Regions from separate parts of the Homo sapiens genome. Here regions 1 and 3 are each linked to region 2. Evidence: promoter capture Hi-C in human tissues and cell types (Jung and others, 2019). All regions are on one chromosome and are shown on one strand. Each heading gives the region's core, a stretch centred on a gene start or on the middle of the fragment in contact. The rest is flanking DNA. Distances are from core to core; before and after follow the strand shown. Region 1 has its middle 150 kb from the start of ZNF618. Region 2 holds the start of ZNF618 (zinc finger protein 618). Region 3 has its middle 180 kb from the start of ZNF618.

Region 1 (2,700 bases), core at 19-2,518, 150 kb after region 2:
CTCCCAGTTACATCCCATATGAAACTGCAAGCTTAGGGAGACGGGGAGGACAGATCCTTACCACCAGGACATCAATCAAGCTGCTGACTCGATGAAAGTATCTGCAGTAACCCCAGTGTGATCACTGGGCTAGAGCTCCAGCCTGCTAATGTAAAACATGGCTCTGAACTAAGGGTCCCGAGGGGCAGGGTGGAGATGGCCACATAACTGCTAGACAGGGAGGAATGCAGGGAGAAAGAGCTCTCCCATTCAAAATGAACTTGTACACCAAAATTTAAAAACACCTGAAAAGCTGATACCAGTGAAAATGGAAGCGTTAATGCTTCGAATATGTCATGTGAATACTGGCAAAAAATTTTTAGAATCAACTTTTTTAGAAGTCTGGAAGTTAATCAAATTCTTGTAGCAATCTAGGGAGCAATTATTAAAGAAAAACAGCTAAATCTTAGCAAAGACAGCAAGTGTTGTGGCATTTTAATTTGCCCTGTTTCCATCTCATGCTCTCCAGCTCCACAGTAGCCTTGAAAATTAACAGCCTAAAATCATAGTAAAAATCAGCAGCCTGCCAGCCACCATGGGGGCTTAACAGGGTTGCTGTTCCTTCAAAGCTTCATTTCCAGAAAATTGTCATCATTCGATGTGTCTAACAGTTGTCTGGAAGCCCTCACTTTAAAGAGCTGTCTTTATTTGACCTGACTCAAAGCTCACACAGTACAAAAAGCCTTTTCCCTGGGGGGTGTTTGTTATAAACAATTAGAGGCAATTGATTACATTTGTAGCTTCCCAAGGCAGTTAGATAATTGGGGTAAACAATAGGCTAAACAAAAAGCTTAAAAGGAAAAGCTGAGGCATGAGATGTCCACAGGGGCTTTAAGAAGTTTTGACATGTTCCTGGGACTCTAGAAGGCCACACACATGCATAGGGCTATACACATACCTAGGGCTATGCACATATGCAGGAAAAACCTGAGAAGGTCCTAAGCTCCCACCTTGGGCTGACCTTGAGATCTTGCACAAGTAAGAAGTGAAGAGTTAGAGTTGCTAACAGCCTGGCTGAGTTTGGAAAGCATGCACACACACATACAAACACACACACACACGGTCCTTTGGCAAAGAGAGGGAGATTTACTGATTGCAAGAGTTTAAGGAAATCTCTATCCAATCATTTGCTCACCACTAAGGTAAGAGACTTAGATGGCTAAACAGAACTAGGAATTCAGACTTTACTCAATTAGTTCAGAAAAGTCACTAAAGAAATTAACAAAAGCAACAAACAGTAACAACAAATCCTGGATAATCTTATTTCCAGAGTTGCCAAATTTAAAATTTCCAATTTTCCACAAAATATTAAGAGACATTTAAAGAAACAAAGTATTTCATTTTCAGGGGGACTTAAGAGAAAATAATTAATAATAATAAAGAAACAAGAAATTATGGCCCATATACAGGAAGAAAAGCCGTCAATAAAAACTGTTCCTGAGGAACAGCAGACACTGGTCTTACTAGACAAGGACTTTATTTTTATTTATTTATTTATTTATTCATTCATTCATTCTTCTTTTGTGTGTGAAACAGGGTCTCGCTCTGTTGTGCTGGCTGGAGTGTAATGGCAGAAACATGATTCACTGTAGCCTCTACCTCCCAGACCCAAACAATCCTTCTGCTTCAACCTCCTGAGTAGCTAGGACCACAAGTGCAAACCACCATGCCTGGCTAATTTTTTTTTTTTCTTGGTAGAGACAGGGTCTTGCCATGTTGCTCAGGCTGGTCTCGAACTCCTTAGGCTCAAGCAATCCTCCCGCCTCAGCCACCAATAGACAAAGACTTTAAATCATCTATTGAAATTATGTTCAATGAGCTAAGGAAACTATGTCCAAAGAACTAAAGGAGAGTATGAGAATGATGGCTCACCATATAGAGAATATCAGTAAAAATGTAGAAAATTATTAAAAGGAACCAATTAGATATTCTGGCATAGAAAAATATAATAACTGAAATAAAAACTTCATTTCCAGATATGGCTTAAGTGCAATATTTTAGCAGGCAGAAGAAACATATATCCACACAAAAATTTGTATACAATTTTCATAGCAGCATTCATGACATCCCAAAAGTATAAACAACCCAAATGCCCATCAATTGATTGATGAATAGTTAAATAACATGTGGTCCGTTCATACAATGGAATATTATTCAGCCCTAAAAAGGATGAAGTAACTGATTCATCCTGTAAGATGAAACATTATGTTAGGTGAACTATAAGATGAAACATTGTGCTAGGTGGAAAAACCCAGAGACAAAAGACCACATATCATATGATTCTGCTTACATGAAATGTTCAGAATAGGCAAATCTTGGAGATAAAAAGTAGATAAGTGGTTTCTAGGGATAAGGCGGAGGGGGACATAGGGAGTGACTACTAATGAATATGAGGTTTCTTTGGGAGGTGATCAAAGTGTTTTTAATTAGATAGTGGTAATAGTTGCACAGTCTTGTGAGTTTATTAAAAACCAGTTAATTATATACTTTAAAGAGGTGAATTTTATGGTATGTGATTTATATCTCAACAACAAAAAACACATATGAAATAAACTAATCCTAAGAAAGTTAACAAAATTAATAATTGGGTATATTAATTGCAATCAAAATTAATATAATGAGCCAGTCTGGAAAAGACTTTAAAATAAGAATGTTTAAGGC
Region 2 (2,700 bases), core at 99-2,598:
ACACACAAAACCCAACAAATACAGAAAAAAAGAAAGAAAGGATTTCACTGTAACTTTTCTAGTTTCTGTTTTCTTTAGAATCTTAGGATTTAAATGCAGTAAAATGTAAATGCAAAATTAAAAAAAAAAAACTACAATTTTTGGGTGTGTCCAAAGCCAACATTTTAGGTTCTATTTTCTCTTTTAAATCCTTCGTTCGTGGAAATAGAAAAACTTTAAATATTGCCATATAGAGAAATTAGTCTTTTTTTGCCCGCTGAGCTAAACAAGTTCCAAATTACAATGAAGTACAATTTCTAATTGCTTCATAAAGCCAATTCTCTCAGTTTTCCCTAAACTCAACAATTTCCCTCCTTTCTTTATTCCAATTAGTTTTTTTCTCAAACTAAAATGAGTTGGGTACCCAAACTGACTTTGCTTTTAGGAGGTTTTTTGCTTTCTCCCCTCCAAGAACTAAATTCATTCAAATTCCAGCTTAATTTTCATTTACATATTATCTGGATTTGGCTTCAGAAATAAAAATTGTCTCCATGCTTCTGGAAAGATCAAAGTGAAAATTTTCACCCGAAAAAAGAAAAAAAAAGAATCTCTTACCCCTCCACTGCCTGGTAGTGCAAACTTTTGAAAAAATAAGAAATAAAAAATATTTCTTTTCAATTTTAATTTCTTTTTTATTTACAAAATAGTATCCTCTAGGTGGCGTCGTTTTAATGGGAAAAAACTACCGTTTGAAGAAAAATTAGAAAAAAAAAATTGAGAAAGGAAAATATGGCCTAAAAAAAAAGATTGTTGCAAAAATGGGGGACCTGGGGGGAAAGACCTCCCGGGGGGTCATCGGGGACCCCGAGCGCAGAGAGGGTCAGGGGAAAATTGCAAATTTGGGGGGGAGGGGGCAGAGCTGGAAGGGGTTGCATTTTTGCAAAATGTGAATTGTCCAAACTGAAATGGCTGCTCTGTTCTCTCGCCGCTTTGTTTTCTGGGCTCCGGTCCGAGCCCGGGGCCGGAGGGGGCGCTGGGTGGGGGCCCCAAAAGACCCCCTCGTCACCCCCACCCTCCTCGCACCCCGCAGCGCCCGGGGGGGTGCTCTCCGGACCCCGACCCTCCCGATTGCGCCCACAAAAAGCCCGCAAACGTGCCCAGGCACTTTGCATTTTGCAAATCTTGCAATGAAGTGGCGCAGCGCCCCGGGCCCCGGCCCCCCGGGGTCCCCCGCGCGGTGCATGCCCCCGGCCCCCCGTCGTACCTGCGGAGCCGCCGCGCCGCCCGGCTGGTTCATGGGTCCGTGCGGGAGGAGGCGGCCCCGGCGCGTCCTGCTCCTCCCGGGCCGGGCTGCTGGTGCGCGCACAATGCCGCCGCCGCCGCCGCCGCCGCCGCCGCCGCTCCCTCCTCCGCCCGCCCCGCTCAGGCCGGGGGGGCGGGGGCGCTGGGGGCGCGCGGGGGGGGCGCCGGCCCTCGCCCCCACCCCCGGCCCGCACCGGCCGCGCCGCGGCAGCCGCTGCCGCCGAGCCGCCCCTCGCGGGGCCGCCGCCGCCCCCCGCCGCCCTGCCCGCCCCCGGGCCGGCCTCGCCGTGCGGCCCGCGAGCTCGGGGCCTCGGCCTCGGCCTCCGCGCTGCCGGCCTCCGCGTGGCACACAAAGCCGGCCGGTCCAGGGGCGCGCCCGCCCTCCCGTCCGCCAGCCCCAGTGCCGCGGCACACCCGCCCCCCCAAACTTTCCCGCGCCGCGCCCTGCCCTCCCCGCGCCCCCCGCGCCCGCTCCCCGGCTCCCTTCTGCCCTCCCCCAGTCCCCCAGCCCCTCGGAAATGTCATTTTCACGCTGGAAAAAAAGTTCAGGGAGCCGGCTCTCGGCGGAACGCAAGAGGTTAATGGGAACTCTGTACCCCGCTGTACCCCCCCGCCAAAAAAAAACCAGATTGATTTTTGAAATAAAAGTTTTCAAGAGCTGGCTTGCTGGAAGACTGGAAGGCTTATTGGGAATATTCTATTGCCCTGCCACTCCTCCCAAAAAAACTAATGTAATAAAATAAAAGTTTGAAGGACTGGCCCCATGTCCGACAAGAGTGGTTAAGGGGACTCTAGCCCCCCAGCCAGACTGATTTTTAAAATAAATACTTGAGGAGCCGCTTTTATGTGAAATGCCAGTGAAGCGGCTGTTTCTGCCTATCCTTGCCAAATTAAAATATATATATGTATTTCTAAATAAAAGTTTGAAAAACTGGTCCTACAGTAAGACAAGAGGGGTTAAAGGTTAAGGGATATTAGCGCCCCCCACCCCCATATCCCCCAGTTAGGTTGATTTAGAGAAGGAAAATTTGAGAAACTTGCATGTGAAATAAAACGTGAACCAGGATATTTCTTTCCAACACCCCAAAATAGCCAGTTTTTTTGTTGTTGTTATTGTTGTTTTTTTTTTTTTAACTTGAGCAACTGCCTCCTTGTGACTTGGGAAAGTTTAAAAGGGATTTTTTTTTCTATTCTCTTCCCTATTCTCCTAAAAAATCCGATTTTTTAAAAATTGAAAGTATGAAGGACCTGCCCTATTATAGAGACAAGGAGGGATTACTGGATCCATCCTACATCTCCCACAACTGGTTGATTTTTGGAATAAAAATGTTAAGAATTGCTCTTCTATGAGATGCAAGGTGAACAGAAATCCTTCTTTGCCCCTCCCCAAAAGAAAACTGCAAGGGTACTTTTCAAAAA
Region 3 (2,700 bases), core at 97-2,596, 180 kb after region 2:
GTGACAGACACCCGGCAGAAAGTGACTTGGTTAGGGGCTGTCACCTGATGAAAGCTCCTGAGCCCTAAGGCACAGTGGGCACCAGACTAGGCCCTTATGCTCCATTAGATAGAGTCGGTCCAAAATGACAAAGGGAGAAGTGACCCACGCAACCAGGCATGGCATGTAGGCAGGCATCAGCATCAGCCACTCTGCACGCACACTGAGGTCTTGTCTTCATAAACTCAGCTGTTACCTCTACCATGTTCCAACTGCAGTCCTTTCTTTTTTTTTTTTTTTTTTTTTTTTTTGAGACAGAGTCTTGCTCTGTTGCCTGGGTTGGAGTGCAGTGGTGGGATCTCGGCTTACTTCAACCTCCGCCTCCCAGGTTCAAGCGATTCTCCTGCCTCAGCCTCCTGAGTAGCTGGGACTACAGGTGTGTGCTACCACGCCTGGCTAATTTTTTGTATTTTTAGTAGAGACGGGATTTCACCATGTTGGCCAGGCTGTTCTCAAGCTCCTGACCTCAGGTGATCCGCCCGCCTCGGCCTCCCAAAGTGCTGGGATTAGAGGCATGAGCCACCATGTCCAACTCAACTCCATTACTTTCTACCTGTCAGGCCTAAAACAAAGTGCTTAGTCCTTCTATGCCTCAGTTTCCTCGGTTTCCTCATCTGTACCATGATGGTAATCATAGGACTCTCTGAGGAGGGTCCCTCTAATCTGTGAGACTTGGGTGAGTTAGTACAGGTGAAATGCTTAGAATGGTATGTGGTGCTGAGTCTTCGCTAGTATTATTCCCCACATCCTCAGATGGGGTTCCCACTGAAGTTGGGCTTTGAGGGTTTGTTATGTGGAGTTGGCTAAGAGAAAATGTTCCAGGACAGACCTGTCTTGGTTTGGGTTCCCCTAGAAGCACCCCCTGAGGTAAGGATTTGCAGGCAAGTCATTTATTTGGGAGGCGAAGAGACACCTTAAGAAGTGGGGAAGTGAGAGAGAAGAGTGTGTTCCCAAGCCCACTAGTGCTGTTGGTGCCTTCATCTCTTTATTAGTCTGTTCTCACACTGCTATAAAGAACTACCTGAGACTGGGTAATTATAAAGGAAAGGGATTTAATTGACTCACAGTTCTGCAGGCTTAGCAGGAAGCATGGCTAGGAGGCCTCAGGAAACTTACAATCGTGGTGGAAGGTGAAGGGGAGAGCAGGCACCTTATTAGCAAGGCTGCAGGAGGGAGTGTGTGTGAGAATGAGGATGTGCCATACCCTAAAACCATCAGCTCTCATGAGAATTCACACACTTTCATGAGAACAGCATGGGGGAAACAGCCCCCATGATGGAATCACCTCCCACCTGGTCCCTCCCCTGACATGTGGGGGTTACAATCTGAGATGAGATTTGGGTAGGGACACAGAGCCAAACCATATCAATCTCCCTGGAGAACTCTGGAGCCAGTGTGGTGCACAGCCTCAGATTTGTCTCATGAAAGGGCGAAGGAACTGCGGTATTTACCATCAACCCTCCTCAGTTATTGATTGAGGACTATGGTGGTGGTAGGGAGACGTGCTCATTTTCTCAAGCCTGGTGGGCAACACGGGCCCTGGCAAGCTCAGAAAGCCCTCAGGCAAGCAGTGCAGGTTCCAGGAGGCAGGACACCACAGTGGTCCAGGTGAGGAGAATGGGCTCAACAGGGCTGGGAACGGCTCCAGAGTGAGCAGAGAACATCGAGGCAAGTAGGGCAGCAGGTCTTTAACCTCCAGGCGCTCAAGAGGATAAGTAGGAGATTGATGTTATGCTGATACCAGGTTAGAAGGGCCTGGAAAGTTAAGGGACTAGGACTTTATTCTGCAGGCAGTAGGCAGCTGCCAGAGGTGTCTGAGGAGGGGAAGGACACAGAAAAGAAACAATCACATCAGTAAGGTGTGGACCTACCTTAAGCCCCAACATCTAGCTCTGTTCCCGCTAACACCACTCTGCAGCCTGAGCCTGATTAAAAGGCAGGCCAGCCAGGAGGTTTCCTAAAGACACAAACTCTAAGGGAACTGTTCTCTCACTGCTATAAAGAATTACCTGAGACTGGGTAATTTATCAAGAAAAGAGGTTTAAAGGCTGGGCGCAGTGGCTCACACCTATAATCCCAGCATTTTGGGAGACAGAGGTGGGCAGATCACTTGAGGCCAGGAGTTTGAGGCCAGCCTGGCCAACATTCATGTAGAAACCCCAGCTCTACAAAAAATACAAAACTTAGCTGGGCATGGTAACACATGCCTGTAATCCCAGCTACTCGAGAGGCTGAGGCATGAGAATCGTTTGAACCCAGGAGGCAGAGGCTGCAGTGAATTGAGATCATGCCACTGCACTCAAGCATGGGCAACAGAGCTAGGCTCTGTCTCAGAAAAAAAAAAAAGAGAAATAAACAAAACAGATTTAATTGACTCACAGTTCCACATGCTATACAGGAACATGGCTGGGGAAGCCTCAGGAAACTTACAATCATGGCAGAAGGTGAAAGGGAAGCAGGCACGTCTTACATGGCCAGAGAAGGAGAAATAGAGAGAAGGGGGAGGTGCTATAGACTTTTCTTTTTTCTTTTTTTTCTTTTTGATGGAGTCTCACTCTGTCACCCAGACTGGAGTGCAGTGGCATGATCTCGGCTCACTGCAACCTTCACCTCCCAGGTTCAAGCAATTCTCCTATTTCAGCCTCCCAAGTAGCTGGGACT

The links. Contacts are between HindIII fragments. The study calls those that stand out against the background at their distance.
Region 1: a fragment that was not itself captured here is called in contact with the fragment with the promoter of ZNF618 in region 2 in 1 of the 25 tissues and cell types used here (aorta).
Region 3: a contact is called between a fragment that was not itself captured here and the fragment with the promoter of ZNF618 in region 2, in 1 of the 25 tissues and cell types used here (lymphoblastoid cells).

The regions. Positions count from the first base shown.
Region 1 is chr9:113,729,694-113,732,393 of GRCh38, reverse strand. No RefSeq gene overlaps it. Among named protein-coding and RNA genes, the nearest start is that of ZNF618, 150 kb to the left of the region's middle. The HindIII fragment of the contact is 3,375 bases long and covers 1-2,700 here.
Region 2 is chr9:113,874,957-113,877,656 of GRCh38, reverse strand. It overlaps ZNF618 (zinc finger protein 618), which reads right to left and starts at 1,348. Exons shown (of 15, transcript NM_001318042.2): 1 at 1,244-1,348. The coding sequence starts at 1,276. The HindIII fragment of the contact is 30,531 bases long and covers 1-2,700 here.
Region 3 is chr9:113,696,694-113,699,393 of GRCh38, reverse strand. No RefSeq gene overlaps it. Among named protein-coding and RNA genes, the nearest start is that of ZNF618, 180 kb to the left of the region's middle. The HindIII fragment of the contact is 4,478 bases long and covers 1-2,700 here.